Linked DNA regions of Homo sapiens: regions 1, 2, 3, 4 and 6 are each linked to region 5. The links are contacts of gene promoters, found by promoter capture Hi-C in blood cells and fetal thymus (Javierre and others, 2016). All regions are on one chromosome and are shown on one strand. Each heading gives the region's core, a stretch centred on a gene start or on the middle of the fragment in contact. The rest is flanking DNA. Distances are from core to core; before and after follow the strand shown. Region 1 overlaps ARL14EPL (ARF like GTPase 14 effector protein like). Region 2 holds the start of CDO1 (cysteine dioxygenase type 1). Region 3 has its middle 6.5 kb from the start of COMMD10. Region 4 overlaps COMMD10 (COMM domain containing 10). Region 5 holds the start of CCDC112 (coiled-coil domain containing 112). Region 6 overlaps ARL14EPL (ARF like GTPase 14 effector protein like).

Evidence for each region. The method cuts DNA at HindIII sites, captures the fragments that hold promoters and counts their contacts. A CHiCAGO score of 5 or more calls a contact.
Region 1: a fragment that was not itself captured here is called in contact with the fragment with the promoter of CCDC112 in region 5 in 1 of 17 cell types (naive B cells); the score reaches 5.8 in naive B cells.
Region 2: the fragment with the promoter of CDO1 here is called in contact with the fragment with the promoter of CCDC112 in region 5 in 4 of 17 cell types (total B cells, naive CD4 T cells, total CD8 T cells and 1 more); the score reaches 6.0 in total B cells.
Region 3: a contact is called between a fragment that was not itself captured here and the fragment with the promoter of CCDC112 in region 5, in 5 of 17 cell types (total B cells, total CD4 T cells, naive B cells and 2 more). The highest score is 9.5, in total B cells.
Region 4: a fragment that was not itself captured here is called in contact with the fragment with the promoter of CCDC112 in region 5 in 1 of 17 cell types (fetal thymus); the score reaches 5.6 in fetal thymus.
Region 6: a contact is called between a fragment that was not itself captured here and the fragment with the promoter of CCDC112 in region 5, in 5 of 17 cell types (naive B cells, M2 macrophages, total B cells and 2 more). The highest score is 8.7, in naive B cells.

The regions. Positions count from the first base shown.
Region 1 is chr5:116,037,950-116,041,885 of GRCh38, forward strand. All of the region lies in intron 1 of ARL14EPL (ARF like GTPase 14 effector protein like), which reads left to right. Among named protein-coding and RNA genes, the nearest start is that of ARL14EPL, 7.4 kb to the left of the region's middle. The HindIII fragment of the contact is 1,885 bases long and covers 371-2,255 here.
Region 2 is chr5:115,815,123-115,819,389 of GRCh38, forward strand. It overlaps CDO1 (cysteine dioxygenase type 1), which reads right to left and starts at 1,537. Exons shown (of 5, transcript NM_001801.3): 1 at 1,106-1,537. The coding sequence starts at 1,275. It overlaps LOC124901049 (a long non-coding RNA gene), which reads left to right and starts at 1,966. Exons shown (of 2, transcript XR_007058908.1): 1 at 1,966-2,049. The HindIII fragment of the contact is 6,274 bases long and covers 1-4,267 here.
Region 3 is chr5:116,076,352-116,080,702 of GRCh38, forward strand. No RefSeq gene overlaps it. Among named protein-coding and RNA genes, the nearest start is that of COMMD10, 6.5 kb to the right of the region's middle. RefSeq lists an enhancer at 168-317. The HindIII fragment of the contact is 4,497 bases long and covers 116-4,351 here.
Region 4 is chr5:116,098,097-116,102,152 of GRCh38, forward strand. The region is part of intron 4 of COMMD10 (COMM domain containing 10); the gene reads left to right. Among named protein-coding and RNA genes, the nearest start is that of COMMD10, 15 kb to the left of the region's middle. The HindIII fragment of the contact is 1,467 bases long and covers 719-2,185 here.
Region 5 is chr5:115,295,342-115,299,109 of GRCh38, forward strand. It overlaps CCDC112 (coiled-coil domain containing 112), which reads right to left and starts at 1,313. Exons shown (of 10, transcript NM_001040440.3): 1 at 1,086-1,313. The coding sequence starts at 1,202. LOC105379129 (a long non-coding RNA gene) reads left to right here and starts at 1,587. Exons shown (of 5, transcript XR_948684.3): 1 at 1,587-2,007. RefSeq lists a silencer at 962-1,411. The HindIII fragment of the contact is 8,729 bases long and covers 1-3,768 here.
Region 6 is chr5:116,058,484-116,062,288 of GRCh38, forward strand. It overlaps ARL14EPL (ARF like GTPase 14 effector protein like), which reads left to right. Exons shown (of 4, transcript NM_001195581.2): 4 at 242-1,006. The coding sequence ends at 464. Among named protein-coding and RNA genes, the nearest start is that of COMMD10, 25 kb to the right of the region's middle. The HindIII fragment of the contact is 4,719 bases long and covers 1-3,805 here.

The DNA of each region.
Region 1 (3,936 bases), core at 63-2,562, 740 kb after region 5:
TGGAGAGAAAATGCTCTCAGTCACTGCTGTGTTTGTGAACCTTAAGGTTTGCATTGCCTATCATGCACAGCAGGAATATTATGCTCCAATTTAACAGGGCAAGGTAGGAGGAGAGGTAGGGATGGCGGAGTGGGTTAGAACCTGAAAAAAAAAGTGCCTTATATTGCTCAGACTCCTGGGAAACAGATCACTAAGTTACTATTCACAGTGAAAAATGTGCCATTGATCCTTTCTATTAGTGGGTATGCATGAGTACCAATGTCCTAGTTGCTGTGGCAGATGATGCCATAGAAATGAAGAGTCATATAGATCCTGCCTTGAAGTGGGAGAGGGCTGATACGGGAGACAAGTGTGTAAATAACTATGAACAAGCTTGCAAACATAGAAACAGAGGTGCTTATTCTAACTGGGCAATGGGGATGATTACACAATGGTGATTTTAGACATACACTGGGGAAAGCGTAAGTGGGTCCTGGAAGTGGGAACATTCTTGCACTCTAGCTAGAATTTAGTGTCAGGCTAATGGAAGGATGCGGTGACAACGAGGCTGGGAAGGTAGAATTAGGTCATGTCATGCAAGGCCTAAAATATCATGCTGAGGACCACAAAGGACCACAAAGGTTTTGGAGGAGGAAAGTGACACAATGCAGACAAGAATTTTAAGGAGAATAACTTCAGTAGCGAAGTGTGGAGATTAAAAAGACTCAAGGCAGGGAAACCAGGTTAGGTTAGAAGTTGGCCTGGGAAACATGGGGTGGGGAGGGCGGGTGTGAAAAAGATGAAAATTCAATGCACTGAGGAAATAGAGCACATTCTGAAAAGCACGTTCTATGACTAACTACTTCTAAAAAACAAAATTTGGACCCAGTTGTAAAAGAAATCTGAGAGCAAATACATGTTTCTGTGGATCTTTAATGGGAGGCAGAACCTTCCAAAATTAAGTGGCTCACCATGAGAGGCCAAACCTGTAACACTTTGTAATTACAAGCCCCAGACAGCCTTTCAGGGAGTCCCTGGGGCCCAGGGGTGGCGGAGGAAATGAAGCAGAATGAGGAAATGCACAGACAAACCGCCCTTGCTGTCTGGTAGCAGGGTGGGGGAAGAAGGTGGGTGGCAGTCAGCTCTGCAGTTACTGGTCTTGATCCACAAGAGGACAGGAAACATTTTAGACTCAGTTGTACCCCAGGAGGGAGTGTAAGCCTGGGGCAGAAGGTCAGGTCCCGAACAGGGTTTGGTGGGAAGGCTCCCAAGTCAACACACCTAACCACTTGCTCTCTTAAATTCATCCACTCCTGACCCCAGGCCCTCCTCCTATCATCCTTCAACAAATAGGTGCTTGGAAAGGATGGCCTTCAAGCAAAGATCACAGATTAAACAGAAAGAACCAGAATGGGATCTCTACAAAGGTATCAGGAAAATCAAATAGCTGGTAAGGGACACATAGAAGAACAAATATACTACAAAGCAGAATAAAAGACCAAAAAAACTTCTCCATGAAACAAAAACATTAAGAAAACACTTCTTCTTTGAAACAAGTGATCAAATCAAAGATAGAGATATGATAAAAGGAGAGATGATACAAAGCTGGGCAGGCAGGGAAGAACCTAATGAGATTTATATCCCGAAATGCTCACATTAAGGGGAAAAAAAGAATGAAAACTAATGAGCTAAACATACCTCTTAGAACAACAGAACATGAAAATATACCCAAAGTTCTTAGAAGAATATGACATAGAAAAAAAAACAAGAAAGCTAAAACTTAGTTCTTTGAGAAGATGAGAAATCTCTGAGAGAAAAGGTACAAATAAACAGTATTATGAATACATTAGATAATTACAGATGCTGCAGACATCAATGATAACATGATGATATAATGAACAAATTTATGCCAATAAGGTTGAAAACTTAGAAGAAATGATTACATTCCTAGAAAAATATGATTTACTAAACTGTCTGACAAATTTTAAAACTCTCTACATTCTCAGATCTGCTTTTGTAATAATAATGTGTATTGATCTTCCTTCTTAACAAATATGTTTCCACAACATTATTTTAATGACTACTTCATATCACATTATTTTGTTTTGACTATTAAGTTGCTGCCAAACTTTTTACTCTCCCAACTTAGCAACTCGAAACCTAGGAATTAATACAAGATTTACTCTTGTAGCTAAATTTTTGCGAAGATCTTTGTCTTTCCTTAGAATAAATTTCCCAAAGAGGAATTGCTGGGTCAAAGATAATGTCTATTTTAAAGCTTTTGACATATACCAAATGGCTATATATAATTTCTATTATAGGCATTTGGTTTAATCACTTCTTTAATGCCTTCCCTTCACTCCTGTTATATACCAAATGGCTATAATAGAAATTATAGAATTTATATACAATAATAGAAATTATAGCCATTTGGCTATAATCGAAATTAATAGAAATTATAGCCGTTTGGTATATAACAGGAGTGAAGGGAAGGCATTAAAGGAGTGATTAAAGAGTGACGGGAAGGCATTTCTGGAAAAGAGAATAAAGGCACAGTTAGATACAGCAAGAACAAAATGTGTCCTAGGACTGGGACGTAGTGGACGATATTAGTAAGTCAAAGTAGTAACACAATATTAGCATATAGTTGTGTTAAAAGTAATAGTAAATATAATAGTAATAATAGTAAAATAAGGAAAATAATTTAATTCTTTTAATATAAAACAATTAAACTGAATATTATTTCACTTATACCACTCTCTGTTTCAAATTAGAAATTGTGTAAAGAGTTTTTATGCTGTTTGGGAGGCCAAGGTGGGCGGATCACGAGGTCATATCGAGACCATCCTGGCTAACACGGTGAAACCCCGTCTCTACTAAAAATACAAAAAAAAAAAAAAAAATTAGTCGGGCGTGGTGGCGGGCGCCTGTAGTCCCAGCTACTCGGGAGGCTGAGGCAGGAGAATCGCATGAACCCAGAGGTGGAGCTTGCAGTGAGCTGAAATAGCGCCACTGCACTCCAGCCTGGGAGACAGAACGAGATTCCCTCTCAAAAAAAAAAAAAAGTTTTTATGCTGTGCATCAAAAAACACAATAGAATATTTTTTAGAGAGGTTTTAGTTTTATAGTAAAATTGAACAAAAAGCACAGGGAGTTCTCATGTATTCTCTTGTTATCCCCCAACAGTTTCCCTGATTATTAACATCATGCAGTAGTATGGTACTTTTGTTATAATTCATGAGCCAATATTGACAAAGTTCACAATTTATTTTAGGGTTAGTTCTTTGTCTATTACATTCTATTCTATGGCTTTTGGCAAACGTATAATGGCATATATCCACTGCTGAAGTATCATATAGAATACTTTCACTGCTTTATTATTATTTTTCAATATGTAAAAATATATGTATTTATTTACTGGCATATAAGGCATGCCAGTTCTACAAGGAAGTTTTGGGGGAAAACACTGAAGTAGTTTTATCCTATTTTTTTGTTTTGTTTCTGTTTCTTTGTTTTTTAAATTGCTTTAATGATTTTCCAAAATGGAGCTGCTGGAGGTCCTGAAATTGCATAACTCTGCTTACTCTCCTCTCTGTTGACTTTATTTCACTTACCTGCTAGTCACTCCATTTTTGTCACTGGGAATGATGCTCATTAGAGTCTATATACACACACAGAAGCTACTGGAGTGCACTTTGCAGTTTAGCCATGTCAGAGCCTAGACAACCCCTGACACCCCCACTAGAGCCCTCTGAAATCTGTAGACTTCTCCTACCTTCAACTCTTGCTCACAGCAGCTCCATTCACTTAGAATGTCCTTCTCCCTCCCTCTTTACCTGAGTTTTTCCCCGTGCATTTTTCAGGATTCACTAATTGGCACCTTTTCTAGTCAGTCTTTTTTAAAACAAATTTTTTTTTGAGACAGGGTTTCACTCTGTCATGCAAGCTGGAATGCAC
Region 2 (4,267 bases), core at 287-2,786, 520 kb after region 5:
CATGTTGAAGAGTGACTAAAAGAACCTGCTCCCAAGAAAAACAAACTTACTTCTTTCCTTATTCTTTTCTTTCACTTACCCCTTTCTCCTAACCCTAAACCCAAAAAACCACAAAGACTGACGCACTAACTGCTCAGAAAAAGTAGAACCTCTCACACTTCGGGGTGATTAAATTTTACCTCTGGCCCCGGAGGATTGGTAGAGAGATTCGACTTAATCACCAAGCCGGGGCTGCAAAAAAGCCAGCTTACCAGGGCACCTCACTCAAGTACATCTGGGAAGTAGGGGTCTTTAATTTACATTACAGATCGTCAGAAGCAAGGATAAGATAAATCAGATCATTTGGGGGCTGAAAAAAACGACGGTCGAATATTTAATCTGCGAAACTTGGCAGTGGATTTGAATAAACCCACAGTCGGGGAAGTTAGTTAAATTGGTTTGGGAAAGGGAACAGCAGAAATTCCGTAGTGGCAGCTGACGGCCACAAGACGCTATTTTACATGAGTAAAAATGCTTGCTATAAGGTGCCCGGTTGCAGGCGACCGAAGGCGCAGTGATGGAGAACTGACGCGGGTGACTTGTCTTCTTCAACATCACACACTTCTCCCGATGGCTGATGTAGTGCTCCCCTGGGAGCACCCTCTGCTAGTCCGGCCAGACGGTTCCTTAAGGTGTCAGGAGGGCCCGAACCTGAGTGCGGTCTCTCCGCATCTCCGCGCCCGGGGTTAACGATGGCTTGGGAGTGTGGGCATTGCTCCCGAGGCCAGGGGCAGGAGGACTGGTGGTTTAGAAGCAGAGGGGTTTGCGGGAGAGAAGAGAACAGAAAATCTCGCAGACGCGCGGTGGCCTCCCTTCCCGGCGCCTGTCCGCCGTTCCCGGCCGGAGGTCAGCAAGGCCAGTAGGATCCACCTTCCGCCTGCGCTGTGGCCGCGGAGCCCCAAGCGAGTCGTGCCAGCCCCGCGGCTGGCCAGCGAGGGGGCGAGCGGCGGACGCAGCGCGGCCCGAGCTTCCCGAGCCAGTCACTTTGGGCTGCGTCCCCCACGTCCATTCCTCCTCAGACGGGGCGAGTGGGCGCCGCCTGGCATTGAAGCTGCAGCGCGCTCACCTGTACTGGTCGAACTTGGCGTACATTGCCCACTCGGTGGGGTCGCTCTCGTAGGCTTCCATGATGGCCTGCACCTCCTCTACATTGACCTCATCGCCGGCAAAGAGCTGGTGCAGGATGCGGATCAGATCAGCCAGGGTCCGTGGCTTCAGCACTTCGGTCTGTTCCATCTCGTGGGGAGCTGGCTGCGCGCGCGTCTCACTGCTGGGCTGCGGTGGAGGAGCTGAGCGAGCCAAGGAGCTGGGGGCGAGGGAGCCTAACAGCCCGCTAGACCGCTAAGCAGACACACACGCACAAACCCAGCATTAGAGTGCCGAAACGTAAGGATGTCGTCGCAGAGACAGCAAGAGACCCACCCCCAGGCCCCTGGCAGCGCAGTGGATCCGGGATCGCTGGAGACGCGGTGCACACACAAATCAGGTTCAGATCTGTGGGGTTCATCCTCCCGGGCCCCTTTTAAGCGCTTGGAGTCACTAGGAATGTACCAACGGCCCTCGGAGGGAGGACGAGGCGGAGAGCCACCCAAGAAAGGTGGCGGAGGCGGGGAGACCCTGCGGGCACGGCTCACGCGCACATCCCCGGCTTCCCCGGGCTCCGCGCCTTCCCAAGAGCCCCGTTGTCTCCGGCGTCCCAGGGATCGCGTGGGCTCCGCGCAATCTCTCCCCCACTTTAACGGCGCGTTTTAGCCGCCCGGCCTAACGCCTCTCCCCGCTCCACCTCCGCCGCTGTGGTTCGCGACGCTGGGACGTAGACAAAAAGGGTCGGAGGAGATGGCTGCGGGGACTGACGCTGAGTAAAGGAGGAAAAGAAAAGGGAAGGAGAGGGACACTTCTTCCAAATAGAGAATTGTGAGGAGCCTGCGAAAATTGAGGATGGATTCCACTCCTAGGCCAGAGAGTGCCTGTTTTGTCGATTGAAACTATCCACGATATGCCCCAGGCTAGGTGAAAATAAGTCCAAGACTTTATATATATATATATTTAAGTATACACACACACATATTTTTTAAAATGCGTACTGAAATATATTTTGACAAAGGAGACTCGGGTCTCTAGTAAGACAATTAGTGAAATGATGGAAAACCAAGAACTCTTTGATTTTAAAATCAAATATTTTCTTTTAAAAAATATCCAGTGCAAATAACCTGATATTTCATTTGATGGTGTAAAAGGGGGCTTTTTCTGAGGGGATAGGGCGGGCTCTGACGCAATAATTTAAGAGGCTATAATTATATTTGAATCTTTCAACCTTAGGCATGTGCTTGAAGGAGCCTGCTAGTACATACATATAAGGAAACACGTTTCTACGTCATGCATAGCACCTAGTACGTTGGGAACAACACAAATCAAGTACAGTAGGATTTAAATGAGAAAGATGTGAAAGGTGGAAGAAATGCAAGTGTAGATTTCTTCCTTCTCATTATGGATGGACGCAGGGAATAATTTGGATTTAAGGTTATTAAAGTTCTAGACTTCTGAAGACCTGTTTTTTTCTAGACTATGATCACCCTCCCTCGTGTATATACATGTATACAATGAAATTTACTTGTGCCAGGTAGTCTTAAACATCTCTGGTAAAACTCGCTACATTATATTCTAACAGTGTTGTTAAAAGCGGAATCACCTATTGTTCAAAAATGGCTACAAGTAGAAAGCATTCCAGAAGCCAGCCTTGGTGATGTGTGTTGCTGCGGGGTAGTGAATTAACAAAGTATTTTGTGACAGAGTAACCTGTAAACTTTTCATGGTTTCCTCAAATTATTTTTTATTCTTGGCAATGTTTTCTATTGAGTCTCTTAATTACTTCATTTCAGCTAGTCTAATCCATAAATGTTTGGAATGAACAACAAAAATGAAATGCAAGCACAATTTATCTTTTCTGCATTTCAGTTGATAAAACTTCTAAATTTTTCTGACAATTCATTTTCTTTCTCTGACTCCTCTTTTTCTTTTTACATTTTTATGAAAGTAATATATTCACGTAGTTAAAAAAAATCAATAGTACTGGAAGGTCAATGAAAAGCAGCAGGCCCTTTTAACCATTCCTGACCATCTGTCCTGTGCTTAAAGAGTCAGTCTCTTAACTCTTCTAACTATTCCTTGTGGTAGTTACTTCCTTTTTCCAAAAATAGGCTTATATTTTTTTTTGTTTCAGCAATTTTAGATATTATCTAGTCATTTTACATTATGATAGCTCCATTCGTTTATTATTCATTCATTAATTTATTCAACAAATGTTTTTTCGGGTGAATAGAAATTTTCATTTCACCTGAGTAAATACCTAGGAGTGAGATTGCTGGGCCATTTAGTCAGTGCATGTTTAAATTTGCAAGAAATTGACATACTAATTTGCAAAGGGTCTGTGCCATTTCACATTCTCAACAGTGATGTATGAGTTCTAGTTGCCCCGCATCCTCGCCAGGTATTGTCAGTTTTACCAATTTTGGCCAAATAGAGGTGTGCTGATATTGCATTGTGTTCTTCATTTTCTATATCTCTAATTCTTATGGGCAGGTCTTTGTTCTTAGAGCTCCCAAGATGGTGGCCACCGCTCCCAGGATGGCAGCAAGCCTTTTGTTCTCTGAACTGGGGTTCTTGGCCTCATGGATTCCAAGGAATGGAACCTTGGACCATGCGGTGAGTGTTATAGCTCTATTAGAAGCCGTGGGTCACAGAAGAGAACCGTGGAACCCAGCTACTAGTGTTCAGCTCAAATAGGACGAACCCGGGCACTTAGCCATGCAGGAACAATGGCAAGCCTTTAGCCGGATCGGGAGTGGCAATGGGTGCCTCGCTGGATCAGCAAAGCAGCGGACACCCTGCCGGATCTGGAGGGGTGGAAGTCGGTGGCGGGTCTGTGACAGTGGCAAACAGCAGTGGTGAAAAGCGAGCGAAAGCTCAGCTCGAGCCATAACAAACACAGACCAGAAGAGTGTGCAGTTGCTAGATTTAATAGAGTGAAAACACAGCTCCCATACAATGCGACGGCACGCAAAGAGGGTTGCCACTCCCTGCTTTAATGCCTGGGTTTATATCCGGATCATTGTCCCTCCCCCATGCTCTCAGGCGATATATTATTTGACTATTTCTTTACCTCCTGCTTTAGCCTAATTTGTATTTTAGTGAGCCCTCTTTACTGCCTGATTGGTTGGGTGTGAGCTGA
Region 3 (4,351 bases), core at 1,114-3,613, 780 kb after region 5:
CCCAGACCTCTATTTTCTCTGGTATGTCTTCTTGGTTCTTTTTAATGTGAGATTGATTTGTCTTTCCATCTATGCTAGCTTGATGACTCAATATTCCATTCTACTTTTTAATAAAAGCTTAGGGTTGAGGGTAGCATTTATTAGTGGCTTTAGTTTTTACTTTCTTAGTTCTGAGATTTTGTCAACTGTCTTGTATCAAGATTCACTTGACTGGTATGGGCATGTCCAGTAGCTGAGGGGGTATCCCCCAGGCTTCAGATCAGTCCTCCTTTAATGGTAGAGTCCCGGAACCTCTGATTCTTCCTGAGTCAGCCCTGGTTTTTACTTCCCCATTTCATTCTTTCATTTCCACTTAGTATAGAGAAAGAATCAGAGTGCCTGTGGGTTTCAGCCAGTGTTAACATTAAGGCAGGCAGGGTGAGGGAAGGCTATTTTCACTGTAGCTTCAATGTAATCATCTTTTCCACTGGCTTTTTGTGTGGGTGTCTTATTTTTTATTTTCTCTTTTATCTTCAACTTTCATAGCTTCCTATTCATCATTTGAGATAATTAGATGTATTTTGTTTTTCTGCCTTTTTGCTCTACTTTTTCCCTCACTCAGATACATCAAAAGAGTGACCTCCGGAGCTTCCTCTGGACTCCGCTAGTCCTGCATCAGCCTCAGGCATTTATATTCTCCAGGTATTTTTCATGATTTCTTCTTGGCTGACTATATACCTCCAATTCTGCTCCTCTCCAAGTTTGGGGATATAAAGAGAACGCTCATGGTTTTGTGGAAACCTTCTTTTCCTAGCACAGTTTCAGCAAGTTGGGGACCACCTTTAGGATCCAGCTTAGCTAAGGCAGAAGTTCGGTTTCTTTTCTCGTCAGATCATTTTTCAAGTGTAGTATTAACTTATGCTTGTTTGTTTGTTTGCTGTTAATAAGTTGATTTCTTTTTCCTGTTGTCTATTTATGATGTTTACTTTTTTTAGTTTTTTTTACTAGCTGTGGCGTAAAAGGGAGTCTGTAATCTTGCCTCACTCTGACATGTCCACCGATTCTTTTCAAATGGTGTTCACAGGTGAAAATTACTGAAGAAAGCACTCTGTCTTTCACACATCCTATGTGTAAATATCGGTCCTGTTAATGGCACAGACCTCTGGGAGGCAGGACGGGAAAAACTAGGTGCAAATGAAAATGGACGAGTGATAATTTGAGATGGTCTTCAACTTTTAAGTTTGAGAATACATTAGGAGGGGATCTGTTCATATATTATAAAGTGTATTTTTGCTACATTTTAATAAATATTTCCCTCTCATCCTCTTCCCCACCCTCCATTTGTTTAAGGGTGGGTGAACATAAATATTGTTTTTTATGGGAAAATGTGGCCTACACCCTGGATACTATTCTCTGTTTCTTGCTTCTGTTTTTTTTTTTTTTTTTGAGACACAGTCTCACTCTGGCACCAGGCTGGAGTGCAGTGGCACGATCTCGGCTCACTGCAACCTCCACCTCCCGGATTCAAGTGATTCTCCTGTCTCAGCCTCCTGAGTAGCTGGGACTACAGGTGCGCACCACCATACCCAGCTAATTTTTGTATTTTTAGTAGAGACAGGGTTTCACCATGTTGGCCAGGATGGTCTCAATCTCTTGACCTCGTGATCTGCCCTCCTCGGTCTCCCAAAGTGCTGAGATTACAGGCGTGAGCCACTGCGCCCGGCCATTTCTTGCTTCTTTCTACAGTACAGCCTGTTGTGCAAATATTCAGAGAATAGATTGTGTTCAAGCATTCTTTATTCCCTATGTGTATCACATTAAACAGGAATATTCACATAAGTAACTCATAAATAAAAATATGTAATTTTAAAACTTTATCCCCCTAGGACTCTGGGGAGGCAATGTGAAATGAACAATTACATGTTTACTATCTAGAAGGCTGTTCTTCAGTTCCACTTCAATTGATTCTCTCACACCTATGAGGCAAGTGCTGACTGCAGAGCTAAAAACAGGGCTAGAAACTGCATGTGTGTGATGGTAAGGAGAGGGAGAAGAGCGTGTGCAGTGCGGGGTGGGAAAGAGGAAAACTGGGGCAACAGCGTCTGCAGGTGAACGTGACAAAGCTGTTCAATATGAAGTTTGTGTTTTATAGTCAGTCTGGCAGTCAGACATGGGTAGCAGATAGTTTGAGTCTCCTGCCTTTATACGTCTCTTTGCTAGATGCATTTGATGAACTCAGGATAAGTTGTAGGACTTCAGACTTTCAAAATGTTAAGGAACTGGGTCACATAGTTGGGCAACCCTTTGCCAGAACAATCTGAGGTACATAATAAAATGCCTGCATCCCCCTATTTGAGAATATATATCAAAAAATTACTTAAAAGATCATTTCAGCTGGACTAGGTTTCTGGGGACACTATTCTGGTGGGTGAGTAGGTGTTACTCTTCCTCCAAAGATAATCATTTGCATTTGGGACTGGAATGTCGAAGGATAGATTTGGGTGAGGATCCCTGGTGTCTTCAGAGTTCCTTTAGGGTTGGGGGAAGACTTCTGGGAGAAAAACACCCCAGATCTTGGCTTTACATCACTGGGTGTCAAAAATATAAATCACGCCTGATGGGGGGAGGGCGAGTGTACAGTGGCGCTGTAGGTAGAGGCCACTAAGGAGCCCTTCCAAACAGGACAAAGCTCACACTCAGAGGGAAGTTTTAGCTTCCAGGATACAGGGAGGGCTGACACCAGAACTTACTCCAAGTTGTGCCATGATGTACTCTGGGCAAACTAGGTGAATGTGAATTGAAAAAGCTGCACAGTAAAGACTGAAGCAGTTAGGGCCTAAGCACCTCTTGTTTTGAGACTCCACTAAAGGCTAGAACTGTCTCCAAGTTATGCCCCTCCCCAGGTAAGTTCAGCCCCACTTGTTTCCAAGGCTTCAGCATGTTGCTCTACTTTCCTGACAAAATGGCCCCTGGAAACTCTGACAGTTGCCATGGTTTAAAGCTCCTGTCACTCACTGCCACCCTTGGCAGGGCAGAGGGAGGGGGATAAGGAAGGGGCTATGGGCAGGGACTGAACCATGGGTTCCTCTTCTGCTATAGCTTCAGGACTCAGTTCCTATTCTATTGGAACCAGGGAAGCTCTGAATTTTCCAGTGGGGCTGCCTAGAGGCACCAGGTGACATATCCTAGAAATGCAGGAGCATGAGTTATAGGACAAATTTTGATGAAGAAAGAAAAAATTGGAAAGAGTTCACAGACAATTTCTTTCTTCCACTCCCACGCCATGTTGTTCCAAGACACAGTGATTCTGAATAGCCTCTCTGGAAATATCCCAGAGTACTGAGAAATAAGCTAGGTTTTGAAGCTGTAACCAGTTCGATAACATGCCACCCTGTATTTGCTTTCTCCTTACCTTTCCTTAGTTTCCCTTTTGCCTGCATTCCTACTCCCTTGCAATTATAGTTCCTGATGAAGGATGTATAATAACTAGGCTTGTTTTCTAGAAAAGTCAGGCTAATACAGAATGTAATAAAAAGTGGACTTCATAAAAGTTTGCAATGGATATTTTACTTGGCTGGCAAGATGGCCGAATAAGAACAGCTCCAGCATGCAGCTCCCAGCCAGACCAACGCAGAAAGCGGGTGGTTTCTGCACTTCCAACTGAGGTACCCGGTTCATCTCATTGGGACTGGATAGACAGTGGGTGCAGCCCACAGAAGGTGAGCAGAAGCAGGGTGGGACATTGTCTCACCCGGGAAGTGCAAGGGGTCAGGGAACTCCCTTCCCTAGCCAAGTGAAGCCTTGAGGGAAGGTGCCATCCGGCCCAGATACTACGCTTTTCCCAGGGTCTTCACAACCCGCAGACTAGGAGATTCCCTCAGGTGCCTACACCACCAGGGCCCTGGGTTTCAAGCACAAAACTGGGAGGCCGTTTGGACCGTGCTAGCTGCAGGAGTTTTGTTTGACTCCAGTGGTGCCTGGAATGCCAGCGAGACAGAACTGTTTACTCCCGTGGAAAGGGGGCTGAAGCCATGGAGCCAAGTGGTCTAGCTCAGTGGATCCCACCCCCATGGAGCCCAGCAAGCTAAGATGCACTGGCTTGAAATTCTCACTACCAGCATAGCAGTCTGAAGTCAACCTGGGACGCTTGAGCTTGGTGGGCGGAGGGGCGTCTGCCATTACTGAGGCTTGAGCAGGCGGTTTTCCCCTCATTGTAAACAAAGCCGCTGGGAAGTTCCAACTGGGTGCAAACCCACTGCAGCTCGGCAAAGCCACTGTAGCCAGACAGCCTCTCTAGATTCCTCCTTCCTGGGCAGGGCATCTCCAAAAGAAAGGCAGCAGCCCCAGTCAGGGGCTTATAGATAAAACCCCC
Region 4 (4,056 bases), core at 202-2,701, 800 kb after region 5:
GATGAAACTGAAATGAGGATTGGATCTGTCTGTCTCTAAGTCTTATTCCTTTTATATCATGCTACCTCTGGCAGCTGTAATGCTATCTTTCTTTTTCATTCTGAGAACTGTTTAGGATACTGTGGCCAAAATAGCCAGATGTGAAAACAGATCATGCCATTTAAATTGTAACAAAAATATATTACACTGACTTATATGATGAAAAAAGGTGTACATGCAATGACTTTAACTGTTTTATGGTAACTTAGGGTCCTACCCACATAAACTGTGGGGTGCTTGCAGCAGAACACATGTTGGTAGTACAGTCAGCCCTCTGTATCCCTGGATTTCGTATTCATGGATTAAACTCGCAGCAGATCAAGAATATTTGGGAAACAAAAAATTCCAAAAAGTGAAACTTGAATTTGCCATGTGCTGAGTACTATGTTAAATCCACAGAAATGATGTGTTGTCATTGTATTAGTTATTATAAATAATCTAGAGATGATTTAAAGTATAAAGGAGGATATGTGTAGATTATATTTAAATACTGTGTCATTTTATATGAGGGACTTGAGTATCTGCAGTTTTGGGTGTCTGTAGGGGGTCCTGGAACCAGCCCTCGCTAGATACTGAGGAAAGACTGTGATTCTGAATTCAAAGAGGGTAAGATCAATGAAATAATGTTAAAAAATCAAAAGGTGTTTATTTTTATTCCATTTTAAAAACTTCTTTTTTAAGCTTTATCGAGGTATAATTGATAAACAAAAATTATGCGTATTCAGGGTGTGCAATGTGATGATTTGATAGCTGTATACATTGTGTAATGATTACCATAATCAAATTAATCAACATATCTGTCACCACACAGTTACCACCTTTTATGTGTGGGTGAGTGTGTGCGTGAGGACATTTAAGATCTACTGTCTTTGAAAACTTAAAGTAAACAACGTGGTATTATTAACTATAGTCACCATGCCATACATTAGATTCCCAGAACTTAATTTGTTTTATAGCTAAAAGTTGTACCCTCTGACCAGCATCTCCTCATTTCCCTCATACCCCATCCCCAGGCAACTACCATTCTACTCTCTGCTTCAGTGAGTTAAACTTTTAGAGTATGCGTATAAATTAGCTCATACAGTGTTTTGTCTTTCTGTGCCTGGCTTATTTCACTTAGCATAACACCCTCCAGGTTCATCCATTTTGTCACAAATGGCAGTGTTTTCTTTTTAAAGGTTGAATAATATTCCATTCATTATCTGTTCATTTGTTGACAGACACTTAGGTTGTTTCCTTATCTTGGCCATTGTGAATAATACTGCAGTGAACATGAGGGTGCAGATATCTCTTCAACTGATTTCATTTCCTTTGCGTATAAACCAGGAGTGGGATTGTTGGATTGTATGATAGTTTTATTTTTAATGTTTTAAGGAACCTCCATACTGTTTTTCATAAAGGCTGTACCAATTTACATTCCCACCAACACTGTACAATGGTTTCTTTTTCTCTGCTGTCTTCCTAACACTTGCTGTCTCTTGTCTTTTTGATAATAGGTATTTTAACGATGTAACGTCATGTTGTATTATGCTTTTGATTTGCATTTCTTTGATGATTAATGATATTGACCACTCTTTTATATACCTGTTGATCATTTTTATGCCTTTTTTTGGTGGGGAGAATGTCTGTTCAGTTCCTTTGTCCAGTTTTTAAATGGGTTATTAGTTTTCCTGCTATTGAGTTTGTGAGTTCCTTATGTATTTTGTATGTTAACCTCTTATACATGGTTTACAAATACAGGTTGGGTATCACGTATCTGAAATGCTTGGGACCAGAAGTGTTTTGGATTTTGGATTTTTTGAATTTTGGAATATTTGCATATACATAATGAGATGTCTTGGGGATGGTAAGCAAGTCTAAACACTGAATTCATTTATGTTTCAAATACACCTTATATACATAGCCTGAAGGTAATCTTACACAATATTTTAAATAATTTTGTGTATGAAACAAAGTTTTGACTGTGACCTGTCATATGAGATCAGGTGGGAAATTTTCTGTTTATGGTATCATGTTGGAGTTCAAAGAGTTTCAGATTTTGGAGTATTTTAGATTTTGGATTTTTGGATTAGGGATGCCGAACCTCTGTTTTCTCACATTCTATAGGTTGCCTTTTCATTTTGTTAAGTTTCCTTTGTTGTGTAGAAGCTTTTTAGTTTGATATAATCACACTTGTTTGTTTTTGCTTTTGTTATGTATTTCATATCCAAAAAGTGATACGCTTTTGGTGTCCTATCCAAAAAATCATTGCAAAGGCCAGTGCTAAGGAGCTATTTTTCCTGTATTTTTTTCTAGAAATTTTATAGTCTCAGATCTTTCATTTAAGTCTTTAATTCATTTTTAGTTAATTTTTGTGCATGGTATAAGATAAAGGTCCAGTTCCTTTTTTTTTTTTTTGCATGTAGATTTTCAGTTTTCTCAGTACCATTAGTTGAAAAGGCTTTTTCCCATGGTGTATCCTTGGTGCCCTTGTCAAAGACTGGTTGAAAGACACTTCTTTTTATCTCTTATTGTTTAGATTTAATAAATGAGAGGGCCAATTGAAAAAAAAACTTGACATTAATAGCTTTTTGCAGAATATGATTGAAGGGATTTTAAAATTTCATCTCATCTCACTTTAATACGTCTGTTTTTTGCCATTTATTTATTTTTCTTTGTATAAATTCATGGTGTACAACTGAAATTTTGTTACATGCATAGATTTCATAATGGTGAATTCAGGACTTTTAGGTAATTTCTCATTATCCACCCTCGCAGCACCTCCTCTCCCTTCTGAGTCTCCATTGTCTGTCATTCCACTTTTTACATCCATGTGTACACATTATTTAGCTCCCACTTATGAGTAAGAATATGCAGTATTTGTCTTTCTGTGTCTGACTTGTTTCACTTAAGATAATGGCCTCCAGTTTCATCCAAGTTGCTGCAAAAGATATGATTCTGTTCTTTTTTATGGCTCAATAGTGTTCCATTGTCTATATATACACACCATATTTTCTTTATCCAGTCATCCAATGATGGACACTTAGGTTGATCCCATATTGTTGTTATTATGAATACTGTGATAAACAGGAGTGCAAGTACCTTTTTAGTACACTGATTTCTTTTCCTCTGGGTAGATGCCCCATTGAGGGATTGCTAGATTGAATGTTAGTTCTAGTTTTAGTTATTTGAGCAATCTCTATACTGTTTTCCATAGAGTTCCCTTTTCTATACTATTTTCCATAAGAGTTCTCTTTTCTCCACATCCTTGTTAACATCTATTATTTTTTAACTTTTTTATTTTTTATTTATTTATTTATTTATTATTTTGAGACGGAGTCTTGCTCTGTCACCCAGGCTGGATTGCAATGGTGTGACCTCGGCTCACTGCAACCTCCGCCTCCCAGGTTCAAGAGTTTCTCCCACCTCAGCCTCCTGAGTAGCTGGGATTACAGGCGCACACCACCACGCCCGGCTAATTTTTGTATTTTTAGTAGAGATGGGGTTTCACCATGTTGGTCAGGCTGGTCTCGAACTCCTGACCTTGTGATCCGCTTGCCTCAGCCTCCCAAAGTGTGGGCTTACAGGCGTGAGCCACTGCGCCCGGACTTTCTTCACTTTTTAATAGCCATTCTGACTAGGGTAAGATGATAGCTCATTGTGGCTTTGATTTGCATTTCTCTGATCAGTGATGTTGAGCATTTTTAAATGTATCTGTTGGCCATTTTTATGTCTTCTTTTGAAAAATGTCTATTCATGTCCTTTGCCCTGTGCCCACTTTTTAATGGGATTATTTTTGTTGTTGTTGTTCAGTTGTTTGGGTTTTTTGTACATTCTGGATATTGGTCCTCTGTCAGGTGCATAGTTTGCAAATATTTTCTCCCATTTTGCAGGTTTTCTATGTACTATGTTGATTATTTCTTTTCCTGGGCAAATCTTCTTAGTTTAACTAAGTTCCATTTGTCTATTTTTATTTTTGTTTTCTGTCCTTTTAAGATCTTAGTCATGAATTCTTTGCTTAGAACAAGGTCCAAAAGA
Region 5 (3,768 bases), core at 63-2,562:
TTTTGAGCATAGTACTTAAAAATACTTTACGTATTATGTATATTTATATATTTTACATTTTTTCCTGAGATACTTGGGACAGAGTTAGAATAATAAAGAGAATTATAGAGGATGTGTGAGAAAATTTGCCGTAGGTGGAATTTCCTGAAGGTCTACGAGTAAAGACACTGTATTTCCTTAAAGGAGGAAAAAGATGGAACCTCTCCTCAGCTCATGACAGCCTTCCTTCAGGTTTATATTGATCCACAAATTATTTAGTAAGTGCATACTACGTTCCAGGCACTACACAACAGGCATAGTTCTTGGTGCTGGGAATACAATAAAGAATAAAATTTCCAATACTTTCTGCCCTCATGGAGCTTACATTCTCATGGGGGTGCGAGGGAGGGTGAGGGGTGTGAGGAGAAACATAAACAATAGAAATAAAGTATGTAATATAATATATGGTACTAAGTGCTATGGGGAAAAATAAAACCAGAAACAGGGACTGGGTGTGCCGCGTAAGGCGATTCATTTTAGGGAGATCATGGAAAGTCTCGCTGAGCTGATAACATCTGAACAAAGATACCTTGTCCTCACCACCTAGAAAGCGGTCCTAAGCCGATCACTGGAAACACCTCTGCCTCCGACCATCCCATATTGTCTTTCTCCTTGTGTTCCCAGCGCCGGTACAGTAACAGAGCTGCCACCAATTACTGAGCACAGAGTCCCCCTCCAATCAAGCACTGTGCCAGGGGCTCCCCAGACATAACGTTAGTCCAAAGCTCGGGAGGTGCATGTTACTATTCCCAATTTTTAGAGAAGAAAGTGAGTCGCCGACAGCATATGTTCTTATCACGCGGCTAGGAAGCGGCAGAGCCGGGTTCCCACCCAGGTCTTCCTCGACTCCGAAACCACATGGAGGCGGCTCTGCAAAAGCTGTTAAACGCACAAGCCAACAAAGAGCAACGCCCAGCGCGTGCCAGGCCCCGAGCAGGGGAGGCGAACGCCGCGCCTCCCGCCGGCGCTGCAGAGGGCACCTGTTCAGCCAGGGCCTGCAGCCCCTCGCCTGCCGCCAGAGCAGCTCTCGGTTCTCCCGGATTTACCTGTTGAGGCGCTGGCGTCGCTCCCACGCCGGTCCCGGTGGCCGCGCCCGCCCCTGCCACAGCCCCGGCTACCGCGGTGGCCGCAGCCGCTACCACAACCGTCGTCAGTGCGGCCATGTTTACCCGCCGAGCTACTCGGGCCGCGGCGGCCACCGGTGCCTGGGGATTCGTGGCAGGCGCACCCTGGCCTCTGCAGACAGCTCCCTGCGCTGCGGGCTTGGCCGGGATGCAGGGCGGGGCCGAGATGTAGGGCGGGGTCGGGATGCAGGGCGGGGCTGAGATGCGGGGGTGCAGGGGTGCGGGGGTGCGGGAGGGGCGGGACTGGGGTGCAGGGCGGGGCCGAAATGCGAGGCGGGGGCCGGGATTCAGGCGGGGAGGGGCGGGGCGAGGGAGGGGCAAGGTGCCGGGCGGAGCCGGGATGCAGGGGAGGGGCGGGTCTGGGGTTCTGGGGCGGGCGGGTGTGGGGGCGGGGCGGGGCGGGGCGGGGGCTGCGCTCTGCCCTGTCGCGGGTTTATATACCCTTTGGGCACTTAACCGACTGTGCCAGCCCAGTCCCATACCTGTCAAGAAAATTCATTGTCTTACATCGTCCTTAAATTTTATTCGTGTTATAGTCAATATATACATATTTTTACCTAATATACATCCGCTTTCTAGGTTTCTACTTAGCGCTGCTGAGACTGAGTCTAAATGAAAAAACATTATCAATGGATTCTAACAATAAATCATATTTTAGATTTTTAAAGAAAAAAACCCAGCTTGCTCCACAGAACCAGATATCAGAGGCAGGAATGCCACAGTTACATTCCTAGGACTTGGTCAATGAGAAGACAGATTCCAAAAATACAGTGCTGGGAAGTTGGAAAAAAGCCACAGATGACGCTTCCAGTCAAGACAACCTGTGGCAACTGAGCTGATTTCTGTAGGTACTACCTTTTCCCCCTTTATAGAAATCGATTCATTCAGTCAGTCAATATGGAGCTCCTAGCATATGTCAGGCACTGTTCTAGGCCTTGGGAATTCATTGTTGAATTAGACACATAGGTAAGGTTCCTTCACCTTTAACAAGTAAACAAATAGGTATTTATTGAGCAATTCCTTTATGCCAGGGCTGTTATAAGTGCTTTATATGCACTTTTGCATTTAATCTTCACAAATAACTTCATGAAGTAGGTACTATTATCATCTCCATTTCAGTGATAAAGTTAAGGATCACATGGCCACACAGGTAGAGGGTAGGATACCTATCTAGACAGCCTGACTCCAGAGACCATCCTGGTAGAGGTATTAAACAGGCAGCGGGATAAACGCCTCTGGAGCCCAGGAGAGAGAGAGCTAAAGATACGAATTTGATCTTCCTATAGAAAATATTTGAAATAAGACTGAATGAGCTCACCCAGGGTGAGTATAAATTGAAGTCTGAGAACTAAGCCTAGGCCACTCCGAGAAGGTGACCACGGACAAGAGGAGAAGGGGACCAATATGGAGAGATCTGTGAGAAGGGAGGAAAACCGGAAGTCTGTGGAGGGAAGTTTTTGCAGAAGAGGCCGGACGTGGTGGCTTACGCCTGTAATCCCAGCACTTTGGGAGGCCGAGGTGGGCGGATCACGAGGTCAGGAGATGGAGACCATCCTGGCCAACATGGTGAAACCCCATCTCTACTAAAAATACAAAAATTAGCTGGGCGTGGTGGCGCCTGTCTGTAGTCCCAGCTACTCGGGAGGCTGAGGCAGGAGAATTGCTTGAACCAGGGAGTCGGAGGTTGCAGTGAGCCAAGATCGTGTCATTGCACTCCAGCCTGGTGACAGAGTGAGACTTCGTCTCAACAAAAAAAAAAAAAAAAAAAAAAAAAAAAAAAAAAAAAAAAAAAAAAAGAGAAGAAGAAGAGGGGAGAAGAAGAAGAAGGAAGAAGAATGGAGGAGAAGAAGAAGGCAAAGAAGAAGAAGGAGAAGGAGAAGAGAGAAGAAGGAGAAGGGAGAAGGGAGAAGGAGGAGGAGAAGGAGGAGCAGGAGGAGGAGGAGAAGGAGGAGCAGGAGGAGGAGGAGAAGGAGGAGGAGGAGGAGAAGGAGGAGGAGGAGAAGGAGGAGGAGGAAGAGAAGAAGAAGGAGAAGAAATAAGAAGAAAAAGAAAGAAGGAGGAGGAGGAGAAAATGGTCAGCTGTGTGGTTCACTGCCTAGAGGCTGAGTGAAGGGGTAACAAAGAAATGATGGTTGCATTTGGCAACAGGGAGGCCGTGGGTTTATGGGGTAGGTAGACCAAAGCCTGGCTGACTGCATTGAGGAGATAATGGAGGTGACGAGGTAGAAACTGTTTTTCGCTATGATTTTGATCGATTTTATGGTGCAGGTGATCAGAGAAATGAAGTGGTAGCTGGGGGAAGATGTGTGATCAAAGAGGGTCTTTGTTGTTGTGTTGTGTTTCAAGGTAGGGACTAGTAGAAGGAGTTCATGCTGCTGGGAATTATTTAGTGGAGACAGAAGTTTGATGCTGCAGGACAGAGGCAGTCAGACCCTCTTGAAAGTAAGGCTGATGGAGTCCAGAGCATAAGTGGGAGGTTTGGTCTTTGATAGACGCACAGACTCTTCTGACACAGGGAGGTAGTGGGTGGGGACTATGGGGAGGCCAGAGAGTCCTGCATACATGGGTTGCAGCACAAGGTAGTTGGAAGATTTGGAGGGAGGAG
Region 6 (3,805 bases), core at 1,009-3,508, 760 kb after region 5:
CACTGGAAGTTGTTTGATCTCATATTGACTGAATTTCCCGTGACGTCACTGCCGTACAATATTCTGGAGTGTTTCTGGTAATCCCTGGAGTTCTGGTCCAGAGTACCAATGTTTCTGGTAATCTCTGGAGTTCTGGGTCAGGGTAAAATGGTCATGTGTATGATGTTGATTGTACATTAATTTATTCTCAATGTTGAGGATGATTGCACTGTCATCTTAATGTCATGCTTTTCCTTTGTAGAATAATGAGGAAGTATGACAAAAGTGGCAGGCTCATCTGTAATGACGCTGATCTGTGTGATTGTCTAGAGAAGAACTGCCTGGGCTGCTTCTACCCATGCCCGAAGTGTAACTCCAACAAGTGTGGGCCCGAGTGCCGCTGCAACCGACGGTGGGTTTACGATGCCATCGTCACTGAGTCAGGAGAGGTCATCAGCACGCTGCCGTTTAATGTTCCTGACTAGGTGCTCTTGTATATGGACTGATTTGTTTCTTCTTCTTACACATTTAAGTTGACCTCTTTCTTTTGGGTGAATTTTAGGGCTTGGGGGAAATATCGAAAAAACATACTGAAGACTCATGTTCTGTCAAGCCCCAGAACAATGTAGAATGGGCAATAATTCTGTAACCTTCTTAACTGTGTCAACAATTTTCAAGTCCCTTAACTTGCAACCAAAGAATGTAACAATGGAGGGATCAGCATTTCTCATCAGCACCCTCATCTCTACTCTGCCTTCAAATTAAAACTCTCTTCCCTCTTTGCTGATATCTGAGAAAATGTAGCTTTAAGATTTTCAAAACTCTGTAGTTGAGAGCTTTTCTTACATAGAACATAGAATCTTAAATTTATAATATCTAGTTGTCCTTAGAATCTTATACATCACTAGCTGTAAATCAGAATTGCCATTTGGATTTTGAAGAAAAACTGTGACTTTGCACTGTATACCCATAGCCTCATTTTTTTATTGTTCATGTTTTAATAACATTAAAATGAAATTTAGTAATACTTGGTAGTATTTTTAATCATTAAAATTTGTATTGTACTTGTAAAATTGAAAAGTTAGGAATTTATTATCCTAAAAGCCAGGAGTTTACATATTTTTGATTTCAGAAGCAGTATTTCAGGATTTGTTTTTCATAGAGAGAAAACAAGTTATACAAAAATGATTTTCTGTATGTTTGCTAATTGAGTGTGTTGATAAGCAATTGACTAGATAAATGATGTAGTCTTTTCAACTTTGATACATCATCAGAGCTATAAAATATTGAATTCAGCTTTCTTTGAATTCATTTTTTTATGACAGTCTTTTTTTTAACCCTAAGTCAATGGTTCTCATTCATGAGAATTGCCTAGAGAACTTGTCAAAACATAGATTTTTGCAGCCCCACATTCAGAATCTGGGACAGGGCTCAACCATCTGTTCCACGTTCCCAGGTGATGTTGATGCTGCTGATGTGGGGACCACACTTTGAGAACCACTTCTCTAAATTATTTTAGATACATAATGTAAGGAAGTATTTAAACCTCATTGACTATGATACTGCCACTGCACAAAGCTGGAAGTATTTAAATAAAGTAACGTAATAAAAATTTAAAAGTAAATAAAAGCATTTAAGTTTTAAAATAAATTTGAAATAGTATAAATAGAGGGTTTTTTGTTGTTGTTGTTTCTTTTTCTTTTTTTTTTAGACGGAGTTTCCCTCTGTCACCCAGGCTGCAGTGCAGTAGCGCGATCTCCGTTCACTGCAACCCCCGCCTCTGGGCTCAAGCCATTCTCGTGCCTCAGCCTCTCAAGTGGCTGGGATTACAGGCTTGCACCACCACTCCCGGTTAATTTTTGTATTTTTATTAGAGACGGAGTTTCACCATGTTGGCCAGGCTGGTCTCAAACTCCTGACCTCAAGTGATCAGCCCGCCTCACCTCCCAAAGTGCTGGGATTAGAGGTGTGAGCAACCGTGACCGGCCTTTTATAAATAGAGTTTTCAGGATTTATTTTTCCTTCATAATCAGTTTAACACTCACTTCTGCACAATCTACTTGTGCCAGGGAACGTTTCTGACAGTTCTGGATTTGTTGCTTGACGTATGTTTTAGGACTAAAATAAGAAAAGTCCTAAAAGTAATGGTGTGACTACAGTACACCTGTCCACGGAGCAAGAGAACTTACATTCTTCTGCATCATTCTCCATAGAATTTACTGGGTTTTCCAGATTTCACTTACTTTTACTGAGCATACACTGTGAACTAAACATTGTGTTAACACGGTAATGAATTGCATTTCCTTTAACCATCACAGCCCAGTAAGGAAGACGTAAAATCAAATTACCCAAATCACATTCTTTGAAATGCTCACCAGGAATGTGCAGCCGGGAAACCAGTAAAAACAAGCAGGGCCTTTTTCAGTTTATATCTTGTTTTATTTTTGAGAATAATTATTATTTTGTAATTGGCAGACCAAATGCATTTATTACTTCTTCATTTTAGAATCATATAATCTTAGAGCCAAAAAGAGCCTTGCAGCTCATCCATATAGTGAATTAGTCGACAAATACTAACAGAGAGGCTGCTCTGTGACAGGCAGCAGGCTAGGTGCAGGGGACCAGGCAGTGAACAAAATCTGCAGGGCTCCTGTCTTCATGGGGCTTATGGACTAAGGCCAAACTCTTTTTTGTTGTTGTTGTTTTTGTACCTTTGCAACTGAGGAGATTTAGACCCAGTGAGATTAAGTGACTCAGGTAAGGACACACAGAAGAATTGGCAGCCCTGGTGTTTTGAACACTAAGACTAGGTCAGAGCTCTTTCAATGATGCCACGTATTTCCTACACTACGGTCATTAAGTGCTTTTAATATAATAAACATTCCTAAGACCCATCCCCAACCTCAGGAATCAGAACCTGTAGGAATGAGACCTGGGATTCCATAATTTTAAACAAGCATTGCAGTTAAGTCTTATGATCTGATACATCTGAGAAACACTGCCCTATATCATCAGTTGTCCAATTTTCATGCTAAAAAATAATCCTAGGCAAATTAGCATTAAAGCCTCCTTCCTTTCTGTCTCCTCTTGTCACTCAGTCTTAAGGATTAGATAAAGGAATCTGGTTTAAAATGATCTGGCTTAAAAAGTGTGTTGAAAAATTATACTGGTAAATTTTCCAAGTAAGGCAAAAAATAAAGTAAAAAACTGCATAATTAACTAAGCAGACACCTAATACTGCTATCATGGAAGCCTAGTAAAGCATTTGATGAAGTACACTTTTAGAAATCAGGTTATTTCATCTTGATCTAATGCCATTTCAGTGTATTTCTAAAACTTCTCTTGCAATAAATAATTATTACAAAAATAAATTTATGTGAATTGTCTAAAACTTATTTTGCAAGTGTCTAATTTTTATTACAAAGTGAATAAAGCTCTTTAGCTATTTGAACTAAATTCAGATTAACAAGGAATGCAGCTGTACTATCTGATTACATTACCCAAGGAAATCGTCTTGTCAGTGTGACAGGACTTTTTTCTGCTTGGCTATCTTTCAATGCTGATAGCATGTCTTCATGAATATGTGTAAAATGGAAGGAAACCTATTTTACAAAAGGTTATTTAAATTAAACCAGTACATACTGAAGGATTTAGACAAATTATCCCGTGCCCATTTATGCAAGGATTTTGGACTAGAATGCCATATCACGTCAATTTTTGTGACAACTTTTGAGTGTAATTTGTAAGAGTTAAAGAATATCTGTACACTGTCTTAGATAATCCTTCTGTACCTCCCCTTCCAGCTACCCCCACCCAAGACACAACA